3 separate regions of the Homo sapiens genome follow, and regions 1 and 2 are each linked to region 3. Evidence: promoter capture Hi-C in human tissues and cell types (Jung and others, 2019). All regions are on one chromosome and are shown on one strand. Each heading gives the region's core, a stretch centred on a gene start or on the middle of the fragment in contact. The rest is flanking DNA. Distances are from core to core; before and after follow the strand shown.

The links. The method cuts DNA at HindIII sites, captures the fragments that hold promoters and counts their contacts. A contact is called where the count stands out against the background at its distance.
Region 1: a contact is called between a fragment that was not itself captured here and the fragment with the promoter of OR2S2 in region 3, in 1 of the 25 tissues and cell types used here (mesenchymal stem cells).
Region 2: a contact is called between the fragment with the promoter of GLIPR2 here and the fragment with the promoter of OR2S2 in region 3, in 1 of the 25 tissues and cell types used here (IMR-90 fibroblasts).

Annotation. Positions count from the first base shown.
Region 1 is chr9:35,817,092-35,821,785 of GRCh38, forward strand. FAM221B (family with sequence similarity 221 member B) reads right to left here. Exons shown (of 7, transcript NM_001012446.4): 4 at 2,799-2,909; 5 at 2,106-2,303; 6 at 1,799-1,918; 7 at 1-1,415. The coding sequence ends at 1,378. Among named protein-coding and RNA genes, the nearest start is that of HINT2, 4.4 kb to the left of the region's middle. The HindIII fragment of the contact is 5,842 bases long and covers 1-4,171 here.
Region 2 is chr9:36,134,307-36,138,773 of GRCh38, forward strand. It overlaps GLIPR2 (GLI pathogenesis related 2), which reads left to right and starts at 2,427. Exons shown (of 5, transcript NM_022343.4): 1 at 2,427-2,485. The coding sequence starts at 2,473. RefSeq lists silencers at 2,079-2,648, 2,679-2,728. The HindIII fragment of the contact is 26,005 bases long and covers 1-4,467 here.
Region 3 is chr9:35,955,971-35,960,317 of GRCh38, forward strand. It overlaps OR2S2 (olfactory receptor family 2 subfamily S member 2), which reads right to left and starts at 2,184. Exons shown (of 1, transcript NM_019897.2): 1 at 1,138-2,184. The coding sequence starts at 2,128. The coding sequence ends at 1,169. The HindIII fragment of the contact is 4,346 bases long and covers 239-4,347 here.

The sequences.
Region 1 (4,694 bases), core at 1-2,500, 140 kb before region 3:
TTTACAGGTCCAGAAACTCAGCCTAAAGAGGGACAGTGACTTGCCTGGGTTCACAGAGCCCATTAGTGCTGGAATCTCCTACTCCCATAAGAACCTATGGACTCCCTTGTGACTTCCCACATTCACTGATTTTGATCCTTGGCCCACAGTTTTCTCTACTTCAAGCACTTATCACCTTCACTTGCCCTCATCTGAAAGATGTTATGCTCTGCAGCCTCTGAACACTGTCTCTTGTACTCCAACCCCTGCCCCTACGTCTGCTACTGTACCTCATTAGAGACTTCTCTTCCTTTGACTGCTCCCTTTTTCAATCTGTCATTTGCCTCCTGGCATCACTTTCTTTCCCTATTGGTGCTGTATGCTCCCTTCACATCCTCATGCCTTCTTTTGCTTAGTTTTCCTGATCTTCCTCCCTGACACCCTCACATCATCAACCCATTAAATATTTGGATTCTCTGCTTCTCTAACTAGGTTCTCACTTCCAACTGTGCCCGAATCCTGAACTACCCACTGATGAGGTTTTTCTCCAGTTCCCTACATTAGCCTTCCCAAACCTTCCCCTTTCTCTTCTTGTCTCCTGCTCCCTACTCTTATCCCTCTTCCCCTGGACCCCAGCCATTGGCCTTATCTCCTACTTCACAGGGCATATAGAAGCCATCAGAGGGGAACTTCCACAGGTTCTTGTTCCCTGAAACTCTAGGAAGGCTCCATCCTCTTCCTTCGTCTTGGTCATAGGAAGTGGTGTTTCTCCTGTCCAGAGAAAATCCCTTCACCTCTGCTTTGACCTCATCCCTTTCCTCCATCTCTGGGATCTTGTCTCACCAGGCATCTCTTCTCTCTCTTCTGGGTCCTTCAAGGTCCTTTAGTCTACTGGCCTCTTCCCCTTTTCCTTCCTACAAAAGTACTTCCTTGACTCCACAACTCCCTCTGGATATTGTCTGACTTTACTTTTGTACTTTTCATCCAAGCTTCTTTAAGAGACTCCTTGAAACTCACTGCTGTTTGACTCCTGCCTCCACTGCACCAGTGTGAAACTGCACTCTCCGATGTTCCCAAAGATCTTCTAATTGCAAAACCCAATGGACACTTTTCAGTCTTTATCTTATTGGTGCCCCAACTGCATCTAACATCACTTCCCACTCTATCCTTCTTGAAACTTCCTCCCTTCTTGACTTCCTTGAAGCCACTTTCCTTCAACAGGCAGCTTGAATGTGAGTGTGATGGAGGCAGATGGCCAGATCCAGGCTTTCTCCTGTGTCTAATAGGTGTCAACTCTAAGTTATTAGGCAGTCTCTCCCTGGGCTGGGATCTACCTGCCCCATATAGAGCCAAGTCAGGTTCCAATGACTCCTCTTTTATTGCTGATCTGGGCCAGACTCACAAAGGCCTGTGCCAGTTGCTGACAGTGTCTGTCCCTGGAGGAAGAAAGAGCAGAGGTGAAAGGGTCAGGTATGGGGGTCAGAAGGGAGGCCAGGCTGGAGACCGTGTGAACCAGGGAGCCCCGGGGGACTAGGGTGGGAGCTGGGAAGGCCAGAGGGCCCCTGTATCTGCAGGGCCTAGAAGTCAGAGTTGCTGAGGATGGCTTCTCGGAGCACAGCCATCTCTGCAAAAGGTACATAGTCTGCTCCTGGGGGTGAAAACCAGTGCAGATGTGGGATGCAGGTAGGTGGGTGGTGGGGAGGTGGGCTGAGGGAGCGCGCTAGTCCTGGAAGGGATGGTTGAGGATGGGAGTGCCTTCCTGCCTGGCCTTCTGACTACAGACCCTGGAATGGCCCCCTGTCCCAGGTTTCTGCCTCACCGCGAGGCCTTCCTCCTCGTTGCCGGGTCTTCTGGGTGTCAAAGAAAGTCTCGTGTTCCTCCCAGCGCCGGTCACAGGCCGCACAGAGGAAATTAGACTCAAAACAGCCGCAGCAACAGCCTGGGGCAAAAGTGCAGCCAAGAAGAGTTTAGGAAATGGTGGTATCCCCAGGAGCTGACCACATTCTCATCTCTTCCTCAGTGACCGCATGCCCAAGGCTCTCATACCTGCTCTCCATCATTATCCCCAGATTGCATCCTATCCCCACCTACCCTGCTCCCAATACACCTCTTGCCCTAGAAGTTACCATGATGCCTGCAGGGATGGGGCCCAGTGGCTGCATGTTCTTCGTGGCTGTGTTTGCAGCGACATTGGGCCCTCCAGGCCTTGGGGTCAAAGGTGGCCCGTCTCTTGAGCCAGAACTCACCCACCTCCTCTGGGCGTGATGGGATAAAGCAGAACATGAAGCAGCGGCACTGGCTTACCTTGCAGGGCACCGATATGTCTGTGGGATTGGGGATGGATGGTAGGGTTAATCTGATAGGACCTTGCCTTCTCATGCCAACCCCATCCTCCATCCCCACCACCCCCTATGCACGCAGACATGCTTTTTTTTTTTTTGAGATGGAGTTTTGCTCTGTCGCCCAGGCTGGAGTGCAGTGGCATGATCTCAGTTCACTGCAACTTCCGCCTCCTGGCTTCAAGTGACTCTCCTGCCTCAGCCTCCTGAGTAGCTGGGACTACAGGTGCGTGCCACCATGCCTGGCTAAATTTTTTGTATTTATTTATTTATTTTTTAGTAGAGACGGTGTTTCACTGTGTTAGCCAGGATGGTCTCGATCTCCTGACCTTTGATCCACCCGCCTCCGCCTCCCAAAGTGCTGGGATTACAGGGGTGAGCCACCGTGCCCAGCCACATGCTCTCTCTCATACTTCCCAAGACATGACAGAGTACAGTTATTCCTCCACACTCGAGAGGGGCTGGTCAGTTCTCCCCTACCTGAGATGATCCGGTGCTCTCTCAACAAGTGTCCACAAAAGCATCTGGACTCATCCCCAATCCGGAAACAGTCCCATAGGTAATGGGGGCAGCGCCAGCCAATGTAGAGACCTAGGTATGCAGGATTAAAAGTGAGAAGTAAAAAAATTCTAAGCTCCCCCGAAGTGTTCTTACCTATCCCTTGATGGAGGTGAGGGGGTGGGGGGAACTTACCTCTCCCCACCCCCAGGTATCTTTATCTCCACCTGGAAGTCCTCACCTCTACCCCTTAGATTTTCTTTTTCCTCAGGGTTTTCTCATTACCCCAGAAGTGTCTTCAGTTCTCTTCCTACCCAGGATCTACTCCATCTTTGTCAGCCTGCCAGAGATGACTCAAGAGAGTGGTTTCTGAGCAGGAAGATTATAGATGAAATTTTGTTTGAGGATGAACATGAATCTCACTGAGTTCTCTGTGACCACAGGGATTCTCATCTCCTCTCCTCATCCCACTAAAGCCCAACTTTGCTTTGTTTTCTTGAAGTGTCTAAGGTGAGGGAAAGGGAAGATGATTGGCCAGATGTACAGACAATGGGATTGGCTCCTAAGGAGCATATTTATTGAAGGTCCTGAAGAGGAGAAGGAGGTTGGATAGCTCTGGTGCTGGAAGGTAGGAGGAGGGCTTCCTCTCACGTCTCCACGTTGGTACCTTAATACCTCCCTCTGTGTTCCTGGTGCTATTGTACCAATGCTCTCTGTGTACCTAAGAAGGGCTGCCAAAGGTTCTTCAAGGGTCAGGAGAAAGGGGTAGGTAGCAGTCATGAGTGGTGAAGACCAAAAATTATATATTTTGAGGCTAAGCAAGGAGGCGTGGAAAGGAAAGTGAGGCTAAGAAGTGTCCCTGAGAGTAGGCACCAGCAAGAGGTCACAACCCTCGAGAGCTGGTGTTCAGCAGTGAGGTCTGAATCCCTGGCTTCGTGACTAGTCTTGAGGTGAGGGTGGTGCTGTGCAACTGAGGGAGGATAACCAGATGGCACCTCCAATTCAGATTTTCTCATTCTCCATGAGAACTGAGAGTACCCCAACTTCTAGCCAAGAATCCTGTATGAGGCCCCATGCAGTGGGACTGCCAGGTGTAGGATTCTTAGTCCCAATTAAAGGCTCAACTGAAATGTCACCTCCACCAAAAAGGTGTCCCTGACTTCCCCTGTCTGTCTGGGCCCCTCCTATTGCCATCCATAGCTCCTTGTGCTACTCCTGTTGCAGTACACTGCATTATAATAGATCATTCCCTTGTATTCCTATTAGTCCATGAGTTCTTCAAGGGAGCTGTCTTTTCACCCGTATCTCTCATCCTAGCACAAGGCCTGGCACAAAATGGTTGCTGAGAGAACGTAGATTGCCTGATTAAACAATTGAGCTCATTCCTTCAAGAGGAAGAGAGAGCCAGTATTCAGGCATAACCCTGAGGTTCCATAACATGAATAAGGAGAGTGGCATCATCTGGTCTTTGACTGTGGTCAGGGCCACAATTCACAATTCCGTGCCTCAGATTAAGTTTTCTTGTCTTACCCATAGTCTGTCAGGATCTAAAGCCTGTCTAGATGTGGCTTTTGGCTTTGCTTCTTCTGTCTTGATGCTGATTGCCTGTAGTGCCAGTGCCCCCTTACACCAGGGAGGCTTTGTTGAGAGAGCAAGGTATAGGCAGTCACAATGCAGGTGGGCGGGAGCCAGGATTCCACTAGAGGAGTTCCGAATTCTGTCTGGAGTAGCAGGATACATTAAAAAAGCAGGAGGTGAGGCCCAAAGATCAAGGCCTGCTCGGAGGGCCGGGGGGCAGTCAAGTCCAAGCACTAGTGTAGGAATCAGTGCCCAGCATTCAGATGAAGAAGACTGGAGTTTGAACAGGGAGACTGGCAA
Region 2 (4,467 bases), core at 1,177-3,676, 180 kb after region 3:
TATTAATACAAATTAAAAGGCAGATATTGTCAGACAGGATTTAAAAAAAAGACCTAACTGCATCTTGTCAACTATAAGATGTCTATTTTAAATATAAAGAAACGGTTAAAAGTTAAAAGATGGAGTAGTGGTGGCTGGGCGGGGTGGCTCACGCCTCTAATCCCAACACTTTGGGAGGCCAACGTGGGTAGATCACTTGAGTTCAAGGCCAGCCTGGCCAATATGGTGAAACCCCGTCTCTACTAAAAATACAAAAAATTAGCTGGGCATGGCGGCACATGCCTGTAATCCCAGCTACTTGGGAGGCTGAGGCAGGAGAATTGCTTGAACCCAGGAGGTGGAGGTTGCAGTGATCCGAGATCGCACCACTGCACCCCAGCCTATGAGACAGAGCGAGACTGTCTCAAAACACACACACACACACACACACACACACACACAAAGACAATACATTGGGTCAATCACTCTTCTTTGTGTCTGACCTTTGTGGCCATTTGTCTCTTGTGTCTGATGCCTGGACAGCGACTCCCTCTCCAACTAGCCCACGGCCCTTGGTCGGGGTTGACTTTGGCACTGCCCTAACACCCTCCATTCAGCACCCTGTTCCTTCATGTGCCTGCTGCTAAGGTTATGAATTTCTAAGTTAGGAAATGCATCCACTCTCAGCCCCTCTCACCTCCAGTCCTCAGACCTCAAGGTGTCAGTGAAACATGGTGGTCCCAGATGGGCTTCCCTCTGCGTGCAGTGAGCAGCCCGCTGAGCCTCACTGTCTCCACCCACGGCCTTAAAGTTTTTGTTATGTGAAATACAGCCTTCTAGAGATTCTAGGGGCAACATGGAATTCTTCCTACTGTGTTTATTTGATTATTTCAATAGGCATTTGTTGACAAAATGGGAGAGGGAATTGAATAGAGGGGGTTAGATCCCCACCTAGCACCAGGAGTCCCTTTTGTTTGTTTATAGAGATGGGAGGGGGGGTCTCACTATATTGCCTCAGGCTGGTCTTGAACTCCTGGGCTCAAGAATCCTCCCACCTCCGCCTCCTGAAGTGCTGGGATTACAGGCGTGAGCCACCGCACCCAGCCCCAGGAGTCCCTTTTGAATCAGGGTTGGGCACCAATTTGACCCATACTGAATACTTTAGGTGACTGTAACACAATGGTAAAAATTTGCATATATAAACAGATGTAAACATAGAAACATAGTAAAAATATGGTATCATAATCTCTTGGGACTACCACAGTATATGTGGTCTGGCATTGACTGAAATGTCATTACTCATGACGGTACTAAAATACAGTAGGTGTATTTGCCTGACATGGGGAAAGGAATAGAGAGCACAGTGCCCAGCCATCGCCCTGCGGGACATTCGTAAGCCGTTGGTATTACAAATTCTAGCCTTATCATCAGTGGGTCAGCTCACTTCAGTGCCCATTCATTGAAAAGCCTTAAAATTCGCTTCCTTCATTTGGGGTGTACTGAGCCCCTTCCCCAGAAAGGAGCGCTTGCGGGAAGTCTGGCACAGGTGACTAGGGCTGTGCGGTCAAGTAAGTGCACTTCTCCCACGGGGCAGGGGCCATGGGTGGGACCACATCTCCCCAGTACCTGGTGTGTGCTGCTCCCAGGGTCAGGGCACCTGGCAGTTGGAAAGACCGGCCGACCCCGAGGGATGGGCAGCACTGGAATGGTGGCTCCAGGGCCAGCACTCCCGGAGGAGGGACCGCCTGAGGAAAGGCAGGGAGGTGGGAAATCCCAGAACATGTTTGGGGAATGACAAGACATCTAGTTTGACTGGAGTATGGGGAAAAGGTGGGGCGTTGGGGAGACAGGTCTGGGGCCAGACTGCAGGGGTGGGAATTGGCTTGGTCTGGGAGGCAATGAGGGGCGAGTGGACGGGTCAGAGGCGGCGGCGCTTCCACCCCGACTGGCATTAGAGGGCGTGTCCTAGGAGAGGAGCATCCCCCTCCCCGGACCAGCCGCCCTCCGGAGCCCAGAGTCACCGGAGATGGGGGCACACCCCGGGGCTGCGTGTGTCGTGTCAGGCCGCGGCAGGGAGAGGCCGTCCCCTGGTGGCGCCGGCCGGAACGCCCCTCGTGCCGCGACCGCGCGCCCCTCTGTCCTCGCCGCGCGTCGGCGCAGAGCAGCCACCCGGGGCCCAGCAGGCGCGGGCTTCCCCACGCGCCCCGGGAAGGGACAGCTCGGTGTGGGGTCCGGGAGGCTTGAGCCCCGCGGCCGCATCCGGGGAGCCCTCGGCAGTCGCGGAGCTGCTTCCCAGGGGTGAGCTCTCCGGGAGGCCCACGGGGTGGCCCCGGGCGCCTCCGCCCTCAGCTGTCGCTCCTTATAAGGCGGGGGCCGGGCGGCGCCGGAGGAGGGGCCGCGGCATCAGCCCGGTCCTGGGCTCTGGGGCGGCGCTGGGCCGGGCGAGCGCAGTGCAGCGCAGCCGCGGGGAGCGAGGAGCGCGCGGAGCCGGCCATGGGCAAGTCAGGTGAGCCCGCGGGCTCGCCCGCTGCGGAATGGTTCGGAACCCCGCGCTCCCGGACCTCGCCGTCTCCCTCGTCCGCCGCAAGCCAGGTCCTGGGGAGTGCGGGAGCCCGGGGTGCGGGTGGAGGGCGCGCGGGCGGAGCGCCCCGGCGCGGTTTCCGGGGAACCCGGGGGGAAGGCGAGCCCGAGGGAGGCCCCCGCCGGAGAGCCGGGGATCGCGCCAAGTTGGGCTTCCCGACCCTGAGGGGCTGCGCGCCGCGGCCCGCCAAGGCGTGGCTTCTGCTTTGTTTCAGGAGGCCAGACTTAGAGTTGGAAAAGTCACCAAAGTGTGACAACAGCTCTCGCTGCGAAGCAGTTTGCCCCGCTCGGCTGTCCCGAGGACAGCCCTGAGCATCCCCCTCATCCATTTGTTGTTCCTTCTCTCCTGAGCGCCCGCGCCGTGCCGGGCTCCCCCTGTGCTAGGCTCGGTCTGGCTCCCTTTCTCCTGGGGCACCCCATCCTCTCTACTGTGGCTGTCGGGATGAACTTTCTGCAGCGCAGCTCTCCTCCTGTCGCTCCCTAACACCTTCCTCACCATTGTCCTCAGAGTGAAAGGACACACTCCAGTCCTGCCTTCGGGCCCCTGGGAGTGGGTCCCTAGCCCTTACCTCCGCCCTACACTAGAGCTGTCCAGAAGCTGGTGCACAGGTCCCTTCCCCTAGGTTTCCTTGCCGGGCCTTCACCACCCCAACTCTCAGCCTGAAAATCCCATCCCTCTAGGCTCAGCTCCTGGGCTGGAGCCCATCTGTGATTCCCCCCGGGAGGGAGCGCCCAACCTGGTGTTTTCCTCGCTGCAGCCCTTCCTGTAGTGGGCCGGGGACAAGAGTTCAGCCATAGACCTGTTTCCCACCGGGTCCTCACCCCTGGCTGCCAGGGGCCGTGTTTATCTCAGCATTGCTTCTGCCTCACAGGAGGCTCTTAGAGAACAGCTGTTGAACAGGATTCAGAAGTCCTGCTTCATCCGGATTGTCCACTTCAGATGAGTAAGGCTAGGTCCCTTCTAGGATCTGTCCTCCAAGATCTGGACTCAGGAGATGCCAGCGCTGGGCGCAAGTGGCTTTCCCTGGCCTTGGTCCTAACCAGCCTTCCTAGGCTGTAGAGGCAGGTCTGGCTTTCAGCCCTGGCCCAGCCAATCACTGGCTGTGTGATACTGAGCAAGCCTCCTTCCCTCTGTTCCTCCCTGTCTGTACAATGAGGGTGGCCGTATGAGCCCTGGGGTTCTTCACAGTATGGAAAGGTGATATAATGGGTTGCCATTTAGTTAACAGGATGACAGATGGTGATGGAGCAAAAGTATGGCAGATGAGAGCGAGTCTTTCGAGATATCTGCTTGGGAAATCAACTCCTTTCTCTGTAGAAATTTGTGGAGAAAATCCACAAATTCCCTTAGGCTACTTTTTTTTTTTCTTTCTTTCTGAGACGTGGTCTCCTTCTGTTGCCCAGGCTGGAGTGCAGTGGTGCGATCTCGGCTCACTGCAACCTCCGCCTCCCAGGTTCAAGTCATTCTCCTGCCTCAGCCTCCTGAGTAGCTGGGATTACAGGTGTGCGCCACCACGCCCAGCTAACTTTTGTATTTTTAGTAGAGACAGGGTTTCACCGTGTTGGTCAGGCTGGTCTTGAACTCCTGACCTCATGATCTGCCTGCCTCAGCCTCCCAAAGTGCTAGGATTACAGGTGCGCCCAGCCTAGGCTACACCTTAATCAGTTGTTTCTGGCATCTTATGTAAGGCACGGTTTTCCAGAACTGCTCATATTCAGCTGTGTGCCCATTCTTCTGTCTGTTCGCCCCTTCCTCCTTCCCTCCCTTGCACTGTCTAGCAGCTCTGTATCAAGCTGTGGACCCAGTGCCGGGGCGTGCATCCACTTGGATTGTGAAAGGAATACATAAAGCTATGTAGGGGATAGACAGGCACTATCTGGCTCGAGTAAGAGGTGGAAAATGATCCA
Region 3 (4,347 bases), core at 934-3,433:
TGCTACAACTTTATACCCTATTGAACATTCACAGTGGACCTTTGCATAATAAAGGCTCTGAGAAGTCTTGGAACAAAGAAACCTATGAAAATTTAGCCCCATAGGCTAGGACACTGTGGCTCACGCTTGTAATCCCAGCACTTTGGGAGGCTGAGTCGGGCGGATCACTTGAGGCCAGCAGTTTGAGACCAGCCTGGCCAAAATGGTGAAACCCTGTCTTTACTAAAAATACAAGAATTAGCCGGGCATGGTGGTGTATGCCTGTAGTCCCAGCTACTCAGGAGGCTGAGGGATGAGGCTTGCTTAAACCTGGGAGGCAGAGGTTGCAGTGAGCCGAGACTGCACCACTGTACTCTCGTCTGGGTGACACAGCGAGACTCTGTCTCAAAAAAAAAAAAAAAAAAGAAATTAGACCCAAAGTCTTCAAACATGTGTAGCCACCATCTGTCTACTTCTATCTATATCTATCTACCATCATCTTTTTTCTAGAACATGATTTGGCATCTATCAGAATACAAGCTTTGCTGTTGTGAAATTCTGTAAGAACGTCAAATTTGAACTCATTACTCCTTGAATTTTATTTAATTTACTAGGTGGTGTTCAATGATCTGCAGTGCATCAGGAAAAAATAGCCTAAATTTTCTCATAGCTAAAAAGATATTCAGTCATCAAAATAGATTATTCACAACTAAAAGCTCCCTAAGTGAAGAACTTACCTTTTCTTAGCCATTCAGGCAAACTGAGTGTAATAAACTGAAGCCTCAGTAAAAGTTTCCACTCCCTCCTTATTTCTCTGATTTCCCTGGTGAATCCAGTAGGGCTGGTAAGTTGCTGTGAGAACATTCTCACGTCCCTGTTCTAACTCTAGAGCTGAGACACTCTAAGGGCCATGCGTCATGCTTTCATGGCTGCTGTCTCGTGTGGTTTTACCGTATGTTCAGAATGCCTTCATCACAGTTGATTATTTATTGAGTCTGGTGTCTGTTGAAGCTGTCAGACATAGGACTAAAACTCAGGAGATATCGTCTGAAAAGTTTAATATCTCCTGCAAATGGACTTAGAGTGAGAAACCATTATAGGTCACATGACTTGGCTTTTGAATGGCAGCTGATGTGATTGTGATTCCTTACTTCCATGTGGGTGACAATCACAGAGGACCCTTCCACCATCACTGAGTGAAGCCTTTTGGTCTCAGCAGTCTCCTCACAGCAGCCTTCACATCCTTGTTCCTCAGGCTATAGATGATGGGGTTGAGCATCGGGGTCACCACCCCATAGAAAAGGGGGATGAGTTTGTCTGAAAGATCCTCTTTGTCTGCTCCCATGGAGTCCTTAGACTTAGGCTTCCCATACATGAAGAATAAGGTCCCGTAGAAGACGATCACCACGGTGAGGTGGGCAGAGCAGGTGGAGAAGACCTTTTTCCTCCCCTCAGCTGAGGGGATCCTCAGGATGGTGGTGATGATGAAGACATAGGAGAAAGAGATGAACAGAACCGGGACTCCTAGGAAGATCACATTCGTCACCTCCATGCTGATCACATTGATGGAAATGTCAGCACAGGCCAACTTTAGAACAGCCAGAATCTCACAGGTGAAGTGGTTGATGACATTGTCTCCACAGAAGGGCAGCTGAATTGCCAAGGATGTGTGTACCACGGAAGCAGCACCACCAATAGCCCAGGAGCTGGCAGCCATGGGCATGTAGGCAGCCTTGCTCATGATCACGGAGTACCTAAGGGGGTTGCAGATGGCCACATAGCGATCAAATGCCATCATGCTCAGGAGCAAGCACTCTGTTCCTGCCATGGCAAAGGAGAGTGCCATCTGCACAGCACAGGCTGAGAAGGAGATGGTTTCCTGGGGAGTCAAAAAGCTGTCCAGGACCAGTGGGACTGAGGAGGTAGTGAAGCAGATGTCCAGGAAGGAGAGGTTCCCTAGGAAGAAGTACATGGGCGTGTGCAGGCGGGAGTCAAGGATGGTCACCAGGATGAGGACCCCATTGCCCAGCAGGATCACGAGGTACATCAGCAGGATGAGCACGAAGAATGTCTTTTCCAGCTCTGGGTGGGCAGAGAGCCTCAGGAGAACGAACCCCATCACAGGGGAGGTCTCATTGGCTTTTTCCATGTGATATCCCCTCTGCCATCAGCAAAGTACTGAGCAGCGCATCAGGCTTTTTGGGAAGAGTCCTAGGCATCTAATATGTGGTCAAGTTCCCATTGCATAATAGAAGAACATATCTGTGCAAGAGAAAAATGACGGAAAGAGACAGTAGGGGGTGTCTTAGAAGACAGAAGGTCAGAGCTGGACAGGTAGTGGGTGAGGGCCTCAAATGTCCGGTTGTGCATGAGGGATTTTTCTGAAGTTGCTGCACCCTCTCAGTGTCCACAAAGGTGATAGAGGCCTGGGGAGGAGAAGTGACCTGTCCAAATCTTCTGAGCAAGTTGGTGACAGAGACAAGACTTGAACCCAGCAGAGCATATCCCTGGCCCAAGGAGGGCTTTTCCTCTTCATTGTGATTAAGTGCTAGGAAATGCTATGAATTATTTCTCTTTAATGCAAATCCACAGCAATTTCATTTGATCTGGGCTTTCTTAGATTCTCAGAGAGGAAAATTCCCAAGAAGATGCAATTCTTGGACCTAGCAAGTGATTAAGTTTCTTTAAACTTTGATTACACGTGGGGAGGAAATTGCGCAAAATTGTTCAACCATATTCACACAGAAACAAGCCTAGTTAATATTCAGCCATAAAGAGCATTACTTCTTCAGTCTAGTGACACAGGCTTGAGCATTGACAGGAATAGATCTGCCTATTTGAAATATGGATTTATTGCAATATATGGGGAGGTCCTATAGCTGGGAAATTTATGAAGCCAACAAATGGATTTGTTGGAGTGACTGAACTCACACCATGAGACAACACTGTGTAGCTTACCAGTTAGTTAATGCAATATTAATAACCACACTCTAACTATAGTTATCGATAGTAGAGTATATGGCATTAACTTCTGATCCCATCTCATTAGGATGTCTGTGAAATTCCTAACCGTGAATGACTAAGAATGTTTTTTCTTTGTCCTTTTATGTTTGCATTTTATTCTTGCATTATCTTCTGACTCTCTGACTCCATTCTTGAGTTCTATGCAAGCAGCTGGCTTATAGGAAGACTTATATGCCTTTGTATAGAGGATATCTAGTCTCTTACTTGCAATTTCCCTGACTCTAAATTCAAAGTACTCATAGATAATATTTTGATAGCTCCTTCTTAATGACAGTGGCTCTATGAGTGTGTATAAGAGTGGGTGGATGATGGAAGATGAGTGGTTAATATTAATATTAGTGAGAATATTAGGGATTCTCACTAATATTAAGGAATATAAGCTGTGCCATATTTCTTGAAACAGCTCATGGAGAAGATATTATCATTCAGGTTTTACAGGTGAAGTAACTGGAGCTCAGAAGATAAATTTGCTCCTTGGGGTTGAATGGCAGAGCTGGAGTTGGATTCCAAGACCTAGTCCTGAGTTCTTTCACGAAACAGCTGCTTTTCTCTTTTGGTGCACAGCTTTGCAAAAGATTCTGTCCCTCCAATATTAGACAGATCTTATAGTCCTATTTATAATTTTCTCTGTGCTAATATTGCTATAGCATAATGATAAATTAAAAGGACAAAGTCAAACTTGTACACACTGTTATGATCTCAATTAGCTCTGTGTATTCTCTGGCCAGTCTCACTGTCTGTCCAACACTCTCTCTTCAGTCATGGGGGAGGGTTTATGTCAGATGTGTTGTCAGGCAGTGCACCTCCCACCCTAAATGGAACTCAGGGTTTCTCAAATTCTTTACGATTGACATTTTGTGCTGGATAACCCTTTGGTGTGAGGGCTGTCCTGTGCATTGTAGGATGTTTAGCAGAGTCTCTGACCTCCACCAATCAGTTGCCAATAGCACCTTCTACCCTGAGTTGTAACAATCAAAATGTTTCCAGACGCTGCCACATGCTTCCAGGGGAAAGGTGTGTGTGTTGGGGCGGGGGGGGGGGGGTTGGCGGGGGGGACGGTGCAAAATTATACCCAGAAGAGAACGATTGGTCTAACCCAGGAGAAGCTTCCCCCATTACACAACCATGGGTCTCAAGGTATTTCCTGTGCAATCCTATTCCCCTCTTCCCATCCCTTCATACAGCACAGAAGGGTGTTCCTGGTTGCTCAGTGCAAGCTGACCCCCTCTGAGTGCCCCACCCTGAACTTCCACCCCAGCTTATCTCCTGTTCCTCCTAGTGCACCTCTCACCCACTCCAGAAAATGAAGAAAAGCAAACATTATATTCAGTGCCACAAACCAGA